Linked DNA regions of Homo sapiens: region 1 is linked to region 2. The links are contacts of gene promoters, found by promoter capture Hi-C in human tissues and cell types (Jung and others, 2019). All regions are on one chromosome and are shown on one strand. Each heading gives the region's core, a stretch centred on a gene start or on the middle of the fragment in contact. The rest is flanking DNA. Distances are from core to core; before and after follow the strand shown.

What was found. The method cuts DNA at HindIII sites, captures the fragments that hold promoters and counts their contacts. A contact is called where the count stands out against the background at its distance.
Region 1: a contact is called between a fragment that was not itself captured here and the fragment with the promoter of CNDP2 in region 2, in 1 of the 25 tissues and cell types used here (dorsolateral prefrontal cortex).

Annotation. Positions count from the first base shown.
Region 1 is chr18:76,366,100-76,369,189 of GRCh38, reverse strand. All of the region lies in intron 6 of ZNF516 (zinc finger protein 516), which reads left to right. Among named protein-coding and RNA genes, the nearest start is that of ZNF516-AS1, 120 kb to the left of the region's middle. The HindIII fragment of the contact is 5,402 bases long and covers 1-3,090 here.
Region 2 is chr18:74,494,998-74,497,951 of GRCh38, reverse strand. It overlaps CNDP2 (carnosine dipeptidase 2), which reads right to left and starts at 1,589. Exons shown (of 12, transcript NM_018235.3): 1 at 1,521-1,589. RefSeq lists enhancers at 481-580, 964-1,476, 2,034-2,303 and silencers at 1,074-1,123, 1,254-1,763. The HindIII fragment of the contact is 9,626 bases long and covers 1-2,954 here.

The DNA.
Region 1 (3,090 bases), core at 513-3,012, 1.9 Mb before region 2:
AAGCATTGTCCTTTTTAACAGAAATAAAACCCTCTTGCCACAAACAGTCACCGTGATGTGTTTGTGGGATGTAGTAAGAGCAAGGTCATGCCGTAATTGAGAATTACAAGTTGATGTTACAACTGGAGTGAGTGCCAAGTGTTCCTGCTTACACAGGTGACCCGTTCAACCCACCAAAGACCTGGCTTTTGGGTAGGAATGTTTGACAGGGGCGGGAAGCCAGGCCAGGTGGATCTAGGAACAAGTTGGTGAGATTCTTCAGGAATGCATGTCAGTTTATTTGCTGCCTATTAATTCTACCTAAGCCTCTTTGAAAAACTCTTGTCCCAGGGAGAAATAGGAGATCAAAAAGCAAATCATTTAGACTATTTTAAATAATGTCTGTGTTACTTATTGGTTATGCCCCAGCATAACCAGTTGTTTATAATAATTTTATTATATGAGTAACAATATAATAATTGTTACTCATTCTTGATTCTGATATAGAAAAGATGTACTTATATTGTTCTCTTTGTCTCTCTAGACTAAAATATTGTTATTTTATACTTCATACCAACTATCCTCTTAGTTTCAAGTTTACAGTAACTCAATATTGTGGTCTGAGTGAATGTGGCTTTCAGACTTAGCCTGTGTATTAACTGTTGGTGTGAAGATCTCGGTGGGTGAGCTTTCCTTTCATTCATAGGACAGTGGCAGTTCAGGCCTGGCATTAAAACTGAGCTAGATTTGTATGCGTCTCCTGCTGTGGCAGTTGGTTTGTTAAATTCCATATCTGAGCTCATGGCCTCTGATGGTACTTTTTGTCTTTCATTACATTTAAAGTAGCTTTTGGTGATTTATCACTGAATGCTCTGCAGAGTTCTCTAAGGAAATTCCATTTTCCTTAACGTACTTTGGAACTATAAGCATTCCTATAGAGATTTGTTGGGTAGGATAATTGCAAAACACATCAGTAATAGGTAGAGGTTTAAATCCTAGGGTTCCTTGTTCTTATCCTATAATTCTCATTGTTTACAGAAACCACAATAGCTGTGTTAAATTTAAGATACCTTATAGATTATAGAAAACATTCTGTAGTTATGTATGTCTAGAATGTGATTCATACTTACCAGCCATGTTCTTTTTCATGTTTAGCGTGCTTTGCTAACATTCATTAATATTTAAATCGGATTCTTTTCCTGTGGGCTTTAGATGCTAGGGATCATGGCTGTGGTTTTTTTTGATCATGCAACACCGTGTATTCATGCAGAAATTATTTGATGTGACACTTAAAGTCAATGGACTTTTATAGATATACATAATAGATGCTACATTATGTAATTGAAACAGTATTTGGAAATTCCATTTTATAATAATTTATTCACTTACTAACAATATTTATTGACCACCCACTGCGTGCCAGGCCTGTGCAGGATACTGGGGCGACAAGATAACCATTTTTCCTGCTTCTCTGGTTCAAAAGGTCCATGGGTGGCTTAGACAGGAAGTAGGGCAGAGCAAGGCAGCGCTGTGACATGGGAAGGGCCCTGTCATTGAGGCTGGAGGCGCTTGGAAGACTATGGAGGGGCGGAGGGATGGGCGTCCCTAAAGAGCTCAGCACGTGGAAGGCCCGGAGTGGAGGAACACATTCCACTGGAGGAACTGGGTGGGGGTCAGCTCACGGAGGGAGAGCCAGAGTGGGTGGGCAGAGGCTCGGGCCTGGGGTCTAGAGAGCACCAGGTCTCCTTGTTGAGACTCTGAATTTCTTCCCACAGGGGATAGAGAGCCCTAGGCAGGGCTGACACCGTCAGAGTTGTAGCTTGAGAAGAATGAGCAGGTCACACGCTACTGAGAATGGGCTTAGTGGTTCCCGGCAGCAGAAGCAGGTCTTTGGAGGCGCTTAGCTTGATCCCAGCGAGAGATAAGGTGGCCTGAGCTGGCATGGGGCCGGAGAGAGCGGGTAGATTTGAGGGACTAGAACAGAGGGATTGGGCTTGGAAAGTGAGGGACAGGAGGGAATGGTGTTGACCCCAGGTCTGGCTTCAGGCAGCTGGCCCCAGGGATGACCCATTCCCCTGAGGCTGGAAGGAGGAGCAGGATAAAACATTTCCAGATAGAATTCAAGGTAAGTTTGAGAGCTTTGTGGAAACCCAGGTAGGAATGTCTAATAGGCAGGCGAAGATACGGGTTTATAGTGGAGAGGAGAGATCCTGGCAGAGACTGTATCTAATAGCTGTCAACATTTAAATTCATTGAAGGTCAGCCAGTTCTACTCTGAGAGACCCAGATAATATAATCTATTGGGTTATTGAGTAGAGGCTTTAACTTTGATCCTCTACCATAGACATATAATGTAACCTAAGTTCCCTTATCTGTAAAATAATGATAATGGTGCTTATTTTGTATACTTGCTGTGGAAATCAAGTTAGGACATACACCACAGAGCACACATTCAGTGTGACCTCTTGTCATTTAGTCTAAAAATAAGCAATTTTCCTTAATAACTGGAGGAAACTCACATACTTGGAGAGCCTTTCTGTGGTGAGCACACACGTGAACACATCTACACACATACTTACGCCCGTGTAGACAGATGGCTGTCATTGATAAGCCAGTTGGTAGATGTTGCTTATGAACTCAGTTTGATGGCATGTTTTCTTTACTTGGTGTCTTGTGGCTTTGTCGGAACCTGCCAGCGTGCTTCTCTTTGTTTTGTTTGGTTTAAGAGACTTGTCGTTAATTATTCATTAAAGAGAGGATGCAGGAAAACCGTGAGTTTGAGAAAAGTGTTGTCAAGATAGGCATAGTTACCTCATTTGCTGCATTCTGTTCAAAAGCCCTCCGGTTGGTAGACAGACATGGTTGGTTTTTGTAGAACAACTGCCCTTACTTTGTCATATTAATATTTGAATATTCTATACTGGAAAATTCTGAGAAATTGTGATATACCGTCTATCTCAGCAAAACAATTCAACAGGCACGAGGGCCAGGTAAATCTGCTGAAATTGATTAAATTCACCATAGGTTAGAATCAGGAATAAATAATTAAAGTCAGTTTAATTGATCAGCACACACCTGAAGCTTGAAGAGAAATAAAGTAGTTTCCTTTCG
Region 2 (2,954 bases), core at 340-2,839:
CGTTACAAAGCCATTAAATGGAACCATTTTTATATGCTCTGGAGAACACCACTAATTAAGGTAAAAGCAGTATGCTGATTTAAGCAAAAGCATTATCCTTTTAAATGACACCTCACTCCCCTCTAAAAATCTAAAGTTCATACGGAGTAACTTTATTTATTTATTTAGAGACAGGTTGTCATTCTGTCACCCAGGCAGGAGTGCATTGCTGTGATTTTGGCTCACTGCAACCTCTGTCTCCCAGGCTCAAATGATCCTCCTGCCTCAGCTTCCCAAGTAGCTGGGACTGCAGGTGCGCACCACCACACCCAGCTAATTTTTGTATTTTTTGTAGAGACGGGGTTTGCTCGTGTTACTCAGGCTGGTCTCGAACTCCTGGACTCAAGCGATCTGTCCGCCTTGGTCTCCCAAAGTGCCGAGGTTACACACATGAGCCACCATGCCTGGCAAGGGAGTAACATGATTTAAATGTTGAGACTAGTGGAGGGCAGGAGAAATTGCTGTGGCACCTGGAACCGTCAGTAGTACACACAAATGAGTCTTCTAGTTCTGAGAATCTCAGTCCCTGTCCCTTGATAATTGAAGGCATATATAACACAAATAACTGAATCACACCTTCATGTCTGATTAAGAACCAATAAAAGAATCTCCAATCTGCCCAAGCTAGAACTTGATCCCTAAGCATAATGTGGACTTCTCTTCCTCCACTCCTGCCTGCAAACATTAGGGACAAGGAAGGTATTGGTAGCAGGCCCCGGGTTCTCCGCCTCTTCCTGCAGTCTATGCTTGGATGATCTACGGAATCTGACCTTGGCAGGCGGTGGGGAGTTTGGTTTGGTGGCCCTGTCTGTGAGGACCAAATATTGTCTCTATTTCACAGATGAGGAAACTGAAGCCAATTGAATAAGACACCTGCCCCAGACCATCAAGCTGGCATGGGAATTTTGTCTCCCCTCAGACGCTTCCTCCTATAGCCTTAAACGCTGCCTCAAATGCTGGCGGGAGCTAGGGACGCTGTCCAGGGCCCTTTGAACCTGGGAGGCTTCTGTCCCGCCACACTCCCCACCCCAGGTCTCCGGGAAAGGGATCCGTTGGAGAAAGGCTGGAGTTCTCAGCAGGCCCCTGGGGAGGGGTGTGGCCTGACCAGCGCTCGGCTCCCCGCAACCCCATCTCCAACCCGGGTCGTTCCACTCGACTCCACCAGGGAGGGCCACGCAGGCTCAGGCCAAGTGCGCCGCCCAGCTTGTCCCTGCGTACCGGGGACGCGCTCGGCGCTGCTGGGACACGAGTGGCCCGGAGGTGCGAGAGGCCCCGGGGCCATGGCCGTCACGGGCCTCCGCCCCCGACCGCGCGCTCGGGAACAGCCCGGACACCATTGTTCCCGCCTGGCTGCGGCCGGGCGCCCCACGCTCCCCCACGAATGAGGCGTGACTCTCGCCGCTGACCCGGGTCCTCCCCGCCCAGCCCGTTCCCAGCTCAGGGCGCCCACCCGGGAAGGAAGGTCCATCAGGAAGACCCACCTGGGAAGGAAGGCCCACTAGGCAAGGCCCTGTTACCAGCAGCAAGCGCGGCGCCGGTTCCGTACCACGTGTCCCGGCCACGACCCCCGGCGCTGGCCCGCCCCGCGGTCGCCCTGGCCACCAACCCCGCCTTGTCCGGAGGGCAGGCATCGCCACGCCCCCGCCACGCCCACCAATCCAGCCACAGGCAGAGGGGTGGTGTCACTCTCTCCCCGCCCCATTTCCGCCCTGAGCCAGGTGCGGAAGGTGACGTCACCTCTCCCAGCTCCATTTCCGTCCCGCCCACCAATCCCGGCCTGGTCCACAAGGCTTTCGCCTCGTCGCCCCTCCCCGACGGTAGACGGGGATGTGGGCGTGGCGAGGGGGCGGAGATTTCGTGGGTTGGGATTCAGGGGAGGCAGGGCACACGGGAGCGCGTGTCCGGAGCTGTGGGCTTGTGCTGTGCTTCCCGGTTGCTCTTGGGTGGGCGGGGGGCCTGGTGCTTCAACGGTGGGGTCCGAGAAGTCGCCTGCAGTGCGGCAATGGAGTCCAAAACTAGGGGGCCCTGACTCCACCCTCTGATCTCCCAGGCTCCGGAGGTCCCACGACGCTCCCATTCCCTTGCGCATCCAGCACTGCACTTTCCGTTGCGTTTCAGTCCCGGCGGAGTCGGGGCACGGACTCCTGCGGGTCACACAAGCTCCAATGAGAGGTCGGTCTGAACTGGATTAGGAAAGCGTTCGCCAGCATCGTTACCAGTAGTGGAAATATTTTAGTATTTGTGTCCCATGACCCTAGGAACTGATGAAGGAAGCAGAGCCAGCACCGTGTTTGAGCGTCTGCGACAGCGCTTTCCTTTTTAATCTTAACAACAATTCTTGGGGGTAAAATTGTTATTCCCTAGTCTGCTCACTTTTCCAATAGAGTGTTCTCAAAAGACTTTCTTTAAACTTGTACCACTACCACATTCTTTAAGGAGTGATGGCTCGGGAGTTATTATTTTTTAAAAATGAATTTAATAGTTGTAAGAGATGTATACGTTCCCACATAAAGTAAAATGTTAAAATTGTCTCCTCCCTTAAAATTTACATGGTTTGTTTCCTCTTTTTATATTTATTTATTTATTTATTTATTTATTTATTTAGAGACAGAGTCTTGCTCTGTTGCCATGCTGGAATGCAGTAGCCCAGTCTCAGCTCACTGCAAGCTCCGCCTCCCAGGTTCAAGCCATTCTGCCTCAGCCTCCCGAGTAGCTGGGACTGCAGGTGCGCACCACCGCACCCAGCTAATTTTTGTATTTTTAGTAGAGACAGGGTTTCACCATATTGGTCAAGATGGTCTCGATTTCTTGACCTACTGATCCACCCGCCTCAGCCTCCTAAAGTGCTGGGATTACAGGCGTGAGCCACCCCGTCCCCCCCATCCCTGCCTCCTCTTTTATTTTTTATTTCTATT